Regions from separate parts of the Homo sapiens genome. Here region 1 is linked to region 2. Evidence: promoter capture Hi-C in human tissues and cell types (Jung and others, 2019). All regions are on one chromosome and are shown on one strand. The core of a region is centred on a gene start or on the middle of the fragment in contact, and the rest is flanking DNA. Distances in the headings are between cores, read along the strand shown. Region 1 overlaps KCNMA1 (potassium calcium-activated channel subfamily M alpha 1). Region 2 holds the start of KCNMA1 (potassium calcium-activated channel subfamily M alpha 1).

The links. The method cuts DNA at HindIII sites, captures the fragments that hold promoters and counts their contacts. A contact is called where the count stands out against the background at its distance.
Region 1: a contact is called between a fragment that was not itself captured here and the fragment with the promoter of KCNMA1 in region 2, in 2 of the 25 tissues and cell types used here (aorta and dorsolateral prefrontal cortex).

The regions. Positions count from the first base shown.
Region 1 is chr10:77,146,283-77,150,418 of GRCh38, forward strand. All of the region lies in intron 5 of KCNMA1 (potassium calcium-activated channel subfamily M alpha 1), which reads right to left. KCNMA1-AS2 (KCNMA1 antisense RNA 2) reads left to right here. Exons shown (of 3, transcript NR_120654.1): 2 at 1,370-1,536; 3 at 3,559-3,818. Among named protein-coding and RNA genes, the nearest start is that of KCNMA1-AS2, 7.5 kb to the left of the region's middle. The HindIII fragment of the contact is 9,011 bases long and covers 1-4,136 here.
Region 2 is chr10:77,636,067-77,639,987 of GRCh38, forward strand. KCNMA1 (potassium calcium-activated channel subfamily M alpha 1) reads right to left here and starts at 1,742. Exons shown (of 28, transcript NM_001161352.2): 1 at 1,199-1,742. The coding sequence starts at 1,576. The HindIII fragment of the contact is 5,846 bases long and covers 1-3,921 here.

The sequences.
Region 1 (4,136 bases), core at 115-2,614, 490 kb before region 2:
AGTAAGAAAAAACTGTGCCTTGGGTTCAAATGGATGTAAGTTTTGACCCTGGCTCTGCTCCTGATGCACTGAGAGACCCTGGCTGCTTATATGAAACCTGAATGTCTATGACTGCATGTAAAAAATAAAGATGAGAAGCTGGGCGCGGTGGCTCATGCCTGTAATCCCAGCACTTTGGGAGGCCAAGGCAGGCAGATAGGTTGAGGCCAGGAGTTTGAGACCAGCCTAGTCAACATGGCAAAACTTCGTCTCTTCTAAAAAATACAAAAATTAGCCAGGCGTGGTGGCCTGCACCTGTAGTCCCAGCTACTGGGGAGGCTGAAGCAGGAGAATCACTTGAACCCAGGAGGTGGAGGTTGCAGTGAGCGGAGATGGTGCCACTACACTCCAGCCTGGGTGACAGAGCAAGACTTCATCTCAAAAAAAAAAAAAAAAAAAAAAAAAAAAAGAAAGAAAGAAGGAAAGAAAAAAGATGAGAATTATGCCTCTCAGGGGCTGTGACAATAAATTGATCTACGTGTGTTTTAAAATGCCTTTCACACAGAATATGCTACATAATCACTCATTCCTGGTCTCCTCCAGAAGTCCCTGCACTTGGCCTCTCTCTCTCGGGTGTAATGGATTGGTCCCCATTGAAATACATTTCCTTTTCAGAGTCATTTATCCCTCAGTTAGAAAGAAGTATTGACCATGGGGAAGGGGGACTGTGAAGCCACCTGGGCATGGCAGAGGGGGCCAGGCACAGAGGAGGGAGCACAAAAGAACGAACAATGAAGCACATAGAGAAATAAAACCTAACTCGACTTGCAAGCCAGTGATGGCCCTATTTTTAGCTGACAAGTGAGTAATCTGATGTGTGTGACTTGAAACAGGGAACATAAACATCAAGGCTGAATCTATAACCAGCCACATATAACTTGTACTATAACTTATTCCCAGAATTCTAGACTGTTTGAATTAAGTGTCTGCAGGTCTCTTCTTCACGCACTTACTCTTATTAAGTTTGGGAACTAGAAGCCTGTGTCATTTGCACAGGTCTCAAGTTACAAGGGAAAAAGATGCTTTGCTTGGTCTCTGGTTTGACTATTCCAAAGAATCTTTCCTAATCTCCAATTCGTCTTTGTCTCCCACCCCACCAGCCTCCCTCCCTCCTTCCCTTCCCCCTGAAAGCTAACCATCAGAGGGGTGGAATAGCCTCTAATTCAGCCCATTCTTCCCTCATCCCTTTCCCTTTCATCATCAGCTAGCAGTGAAAGTCACCATCCTCTTGGACCTCCCATTTCTGAGGCATTGTCTGTCCCAGAACCCCATGCAGGACATTGGAGACAAGTGAATCTAACCTCGTCCAATCTCCCTCTTCTTCCCGTAGATAAAAACCTGAACTCAAAGAAGAGAACTGGAATAATCCTCCCTTATCCCACTTCCCATGGTGAGCCCCAGCTGGGACGCTGACACATGGCCCCAACTTTTCCTCCTGCCTGATGTCTGGACCCACAGGGGACAGATGGTGGTCCCTGGTCACTGAAGTACCCACAGGTTTGATTATTGAGACTTTTATCTCTGTTGACTACAGGGAGGACCTGAATCAGTTTACATGGTTAAAATAAAAGCGCCATATACAAGGATAAAGCAGGACAGGGCCCCCACCATCTAAAAGTAGAAGGGATGGGGATTGCCAGGCAGCACCTGCCACCACCAAGAAAAGACTGAGAAAGGGACACTTCAGGCACAACATGTAAGGAGGTGCTCCTTTTGGGACTGACCCTGCCTTTGCATAGCCCTGGGAATGAGCCACCCTCATGTTTGCACCCAGGCCTCTCTCTTGCCTCATCCTGCACCTGCCATGAGTTTACTACTGAGCTCACTTCTGAAATTGGCTCTGCATTGCCTGTCACCTATGGCAAGAGAGAAACAACTAGGTTATGACTATTGTGAACTGAGAAAACCTATAAAGCCAATTCAGAGATCAAATCTATCCTAAAATTAAATTCAAGCAGAATTTTTGTGCCAGCGGCTTTGAATAAAGACTGAAGAACACGGTGAGTTATATCTTCAATTACAGTTTACAAAGAACAGAGGTACTCCTTCCAAAAGGGGACTCTTGATTTAGCTCTCTGTAAGGACAGAAAGCATAACACTGAATCTTGGGTCAGCAAAAACATTTTCACAAGGGCCTCAGGTATCATGAGATTTAGCTCTGTTTAATTCTGATGCTCAACATTAATTTAAGGAAAATGAAGTACTTGTTTTGGGGGGGATTAATTTGCTACCAGGCACACCTCAGCTGTGTTTTATTCTGAAGCTCTAAATTAGCACCAGGATCAACCTGGATAATCTAAATCAGGGGTTGCCAATTTTTTTCTGTAAAGGGCCAGATCATAAATATTTTGGGCTTTGTAAGCTGCACAATCTCTATTGCAAGTGCTCAATGCGGCCATTGGAGTGAGAAAACTAGCCACAGATGATACAAAAATGAATGAGCTTGGCCTCGTTCCAGTAAAACTTTCCTTACAAAAATAGGTGATGGACCAGATGTAGCCTGTAGGCCATAGTTGGTCAACCTCTGATGTAGCTGACATCTTGAAATGAGGAAGGAATGTTTAATTTGAGAACAGGTACTTCTACATTTCACAAGGTAGAAATCTGTAAATAACAACATTTGGAAGTTCCTTCTGTTTCCTGCAACACTCACTTTAGAACCTAATATCATGCTATTTTTATTGCTCTGGCTTAATTCAGTTATATAGAAATCATTTCTATTCAAATAGACGATGAAATCCTTGAGGTCAAGGTCTCTGTCCAACTTCTTTGGGTATAATCCATCGTGCCTAGCACAGCTGGGAACTTTGCACTTGCTTAAAGTGTTTTCTTCCCTTTCTGAAGGACAGTGATTCACATCTCTGCTTTTGACATGCAAGGACTTGACGATCTATTTAACCTAAGGGGAGAAGAGTCTCTTTCAAAGAATGGATTGTCATCCCCTTCTCCCTGCCCCTGCCATGTACATTATGCTTCTAATCAGTCTGGAATAAAGCGATGTCATGGGCATAAACTAATTTCTTCCAATCCAAAACAAGTTAGCAAGTCTCATTTTGTAATTCTAAAGTCTTCAGCTCATGTATTTATTTCAACATTTTTTTCCTATAAATAAATGGCTGTGTGACTTGTCTCCTTCTTTGTGTTCATATCCCAATGTCCAGTGTAGAGTGGCCTTCACTAAATATGTGTAGAAGGAATGAGGAAATGAATGCAAGATGGGCTTAGCTCATAAACCCTTTGTTTTGTTAGAGACTTTTGCCAACTCTTTTAGGCAGTTACAATATTTTGATGGGCAAGACCTGTGCTGTTGGGCTGCCTGGTCAAACCCATGCATAGTGAAATAATCCGTCTCCAATCTCAGCCTGCATCCTAACCCCAATTTGTCCCTGAGTGCAAGGTCACTGATCTGAATTTGAATGGCAGGCTTTGTTGACCTAACAACTCTGTTAGGCTCACCCATTTCTGCATACTACTGGTGAGTGACAGAGGATGGACACTGAAATCTCCATCTTTTCATAGAACCCATGCAAGAGGCACAAAACCATCTGCTTAGTGGTCATGTGGCAGCAGACAGTATCTCAGAAGTCCTCGCAGCATATGACTTCACTGATGAAGATGGATCACACTTGAGCAGGGATTCTTGATCTCTGCAAAACAGCTCATACACAACAGGAACAATCTCACAGATAAGAAAAACTCCAGAAGTTGGTCTCGGGCTATGAAAATTTCTGCCACAATATGATTTATATGAAAATAAATAAAGTGGGTCTACTACTTTATCATTAGCAATAAGTGGATTCTTTCTTCCTGCCACAGACAAACTGAGGATGTAAATGAACACCATACTCGCATTGTTGCTTATGCTGTTGTTCTTCACCCACTGCCTGAGGTGTAGGTTTGCAAATAAAATCAAACCATCATTATTCTGGACTGATTATCCAATTAGAGAATGAAATAGGCCAGCCCTGTCTTCCTTCTTCTTCCATCAAATGCCATTCTTGTAGCCATTTCACTGACAACATGAGGGGCCAACAGAAGAAATAAACAGGCATAAATTTCAAACCCAGGAAATTTATGTGAGCAAAGGGAAAGAATCC
Region 2 (3,921 bases), core at 492-2,991:
TGAACATGTGGAGGCTGCAATGTGTATCTACCCTGCACTATTCCCCTGGATTTCCCTTCCCTCCAAAACGGTTCGCGCGTGAAGTCCCCTAGGATGGGAATTACTCAGAAAGAAGGCAGCTGGCTCACTCTCTTTTTTCCAGTTCTTTCTTTTTTATTCTGCAGTTTTCTATCAGTGTCGGGTCCCCCACTCCAGCCAGTGGCTGTGGGGAAGGGAAGACATCTCTAGGGACACGACTACAGACCAGGCAGTGAGCCTAGCAACCATACATCGAAGGTGTCGCCAGCCTCAGTGCCGGTGGGCGTCTGCACCAGGAATAGCTAAAGCCGACGACATCTAGCCACCTCGAGCGCCAGGGAAGACGCTCCGCGTAAAACCGCGGCCTCAGGCGGACTCCCGCTCCAGCTCCGCGCTGCTGGTGGCATTTCCGGGGACCCAAAGTGGGTGGCCTGGGGGCAAAGGAACAGAGGCCGAAGAACTTGGGGTATGTTCCACTAGAGCACCTAAGGGACGGAGTGGGAGGTTACATCAGATATGCGACCTCGACACATTCCAAAAGTGGCAGCCCCGTGGGCTACCCCCAATAGTGGGATGGATCTCCCCAACTTCTCTCGCCCCTCGAAGTCCCCCTGTTATCTCGGGCCATGCTCCTCCCCCGGGATTCCCTTGTGCAAAATTATTCTCTCCCTTGCCCAAAGGATTTTTCCCTTCTTTCTGACCCCACGAACTCATCTCCCCAACAGGTTCCTAAAGTATGGGCGGATGTGCTCCCTCTCGCCCACCGCCAGGAGCCGAGCCCCGGCAGGTGAGCGGTGCAAAACACGCACCCAGCTGCCCCCAGCTTCCTCCGTCCCCGCTGAGTTGGCTGTCCCCACCCCGCACCACGGCACCCGAGCCTGTGAGTCCCCGACCCCGGCCCCAGCCGCAGCCGCCAACAACCCTACAATAAACAAGAGGACAGGATTGAGCGTCCGCGTCCCGGAGCGCACTGGCTGGGGGCAACTCCTCACCCCCGGCGCGCCGCCCGCTGCCCCGATCCGAGAGCACCGGGAGAGCCGAGGGAAGGGAAGGCGGCGAGGGGAAGGCAGGCGGGGATGGAGGGAGGCACGGCGCGGCGCGGAGCGAGGAGGTGGGCTGCAGGGGACGCCGAGAAGCGGTGGGGCTGGCGCAGAGGGCGGGCGCCCGGGGCGCGCGTTACCTTCGTCTTGCCCCCGCAGTGGCAGCACACGGTCCACAGGTACTTGAGCGTCCGCCAGAGCAAGATGATGAAGAGGCCCCCGAAGAAAGTCACCATGGAGGAGGCCAGGAAAGCCCACCACATGCGTTGGCCCCGGCTGTCGCACGGCACCTCCATGGTCACCGGGATGATGAGCGCATCCATCTTGGGCTCGTGGACCGAGGACGAGGAGGAAGAGGAGGAGGAAGAAGAAGAAGAGGAAGAGGAGGAGGAGGAGGAGGAGGACGCGTCTAGGCTGAGATGGTTCGCGTGGATATTGCTACTCATTCTAAGACTGCTGCCTCCGCCGCCGCCGCCGCCGCCGCTGCTGCCGCCGCCGCCGCCGCCACCATTTGCCATAGCTAGCAACGGGCAGCCGGCGCAGGGGCTCGGGGGAGCTCCTCCCGCCGCCAGCGCCACCCCAAACACCCATCAACAGCCATATTGCTGCTACTGCTGCCGCCGCCGCCGCCGCCGCGGAGCGCGGGAGGGGGGCGGGGAGGCGCCTGGGCTCGGGGCGCTGTGCGCGACCTGGCGGGGTGCGCCGAGATATATACAGCGAGCCGCCGCCGCCCGCCCGGGGGGGAGGGGGATGGAGTGCGCGGGCAGCTCCCCCTCCCCGGCCCGCGCCCCGCTCGCCCCGGGCTGCGCTGGCCCCGAGCGCCGAGAGCCAGGGGGCGCCGCGGGCCGCCCGCGCCCGGGGTCTGCGCCGCCCCCGGGCCCGCCCCGGCTCCGCGCGCGGTCCCGGGTGTCCTCGGCGCCGCGCCGCCCGCCGTGCGCCACGGGTGTGCGCTGCGCTCGGCCGGTGACCCCCTTCCCCGAGCGCCTCCCGCGCGGCTAACGAGCCGCTCTCCGCTTATTAGGTGGTAACTCGTTAATAATGGATAATCGGCCCCCTCCGCCCGGGCGCCCCTGCGCCAGCCCTCCTCCCCCGGCTGCGCTCGGCTCCGGCTCGCCGCGCCAGTGCGCGCCCGGCCGCGGCAGGTTCACCGCGTCCGGCCGCCGGCCCGTGGCCGCCTGCTAGCCCATGTTCTCGGGACCCCCTAGTCCTGTCGCCACGCCGCTGAGCCCCTCGGCCTCCGCTCGCTCTTCCTCCTTGCCGCCTCCGACTCCTCCTCGTCCCCGTCCTCGCCGCCCAAGCCTCTTCGGCGCGCGCCCCGCGCTCCCCGCAGCCGCCAGCAGCAGCAGCTGCAGCAACTGGAGCGGGCGCGGACTCAGGACGACCCAGGCGGGAGGGGAGGAGGCTCGCCGCGCTGGCTCGCCTGGGCTCCGGGCTGGGCAGGGGTGGGCAGGGCCCCTCGGCAGCGGCCCGGCAAGCGCCCCTGACCCCCAGGGCGCAAGGTAGAGCGCCCCCAGCCCAGGCGCGGGGCCAGGCGCCTCTCTCCAAGGTGCTGCGCCCCCAGCCGAGAGCGGTGGGGTACACTGGGAGGACGGCGGGGCGCCCCGGTCAGGCCGTTTTTTTCCCCAAAGAGCCCCCAGTGGGGAGGGGAGGAGTGGCCAGCTGTCAACTGGATTCCACAGGCTGAGCTCCCCAGGACCCTCGGGCTTCGGGAGTGAGGAGGACCCCACGCCAGGATACACACAGCTACCCACCCCTACTTCGCTCTTCCTGCTACCTATGTGCCCAGGGTCCCGCGTGTGGCTGGAGGGTAGAGTCAGGAAGGCCAGCGGGTGGTCTGTGGCCTCTGACAGCAGCAGGTGGTTTCTCTCCTTTTTCCTTATTAGCAACAGAGGCTGCCCAACAAAGAGTAGGCAGAAATGATCAAGGACGACCTGGCCTGGGGATAGTGCAGGCCCCGATAGACAATAGAGTTCCCTGAAGGGTTGCTTTCCTCTCATATAGTCTCAGACTCCATCCATCCCGTGAGGAGGGCAGATGGGGGAAGAGGGACTCCAGACTTCATTCTGGCTCACCGTTCCCCATTTAGGGTCTTCCCTTCTCCCCACTTAAGATGAAGAAGGAGTCCGTGTTTGTTCCGTAGCGTGTCTCCGTACACCACCAGGGGAATCCCCCTTCTGACACTTTCAGAAACTTTGCGCCCCCTGAACAGCGTCCGTCCTCGTGCTACCAGCTGGACCCCAAGTTTTTCCAGCGCTAATTAAATCGAGGATGATCACGCTCTTCCCTCATTGCTGCAGTGGTTTCCCCAAAGTTTCCAGCTCATTAGTTTAAGCCTAATTGGAATTCTCAGGTTCCTTTCAGCTCTTCCCATGGAAAAGGCCCAAGTTAGCATCCTTAGCTTTACACCTGAGGCTGTCTCCGTGAGAGTCAGATCAGCCCTGCCCTTGTCCTTGGAGGTCTCTGGAAGGAAGAGCGAGCAAGGGAGGCTGAGCTGGGCAGAGAGGCTGAAGAGGATGTTTGAAGCTTCTCTCTTGCTTGATTCGGAATACATTCATTGGGTTTAGAGTACACATCCACTAAGAAAGAGTCAAGGCCAAAGTCAAAGGAGAAAATGGAATGAGGTAAGAGTTCTTGAGTATTTGGTTCTCAAAAAGAAGTGTATGTAAAAGGGAGCTGCAGAAAGTGTGCTCCAGAAAATGGAATTGTCTGAGCCTCCTCTCCATACCATCCCATAGTACCTCCAACCTCGGCCTCTGTGTTCAGCCACTCTGAATGCATCCCTGCCACACCAGACCCAAGCATGCAAAGGCCCTGGGCCTTTTCTGGTACTGGGTTGGGGGAGCGGGACCCAGAAGTGCTGTGG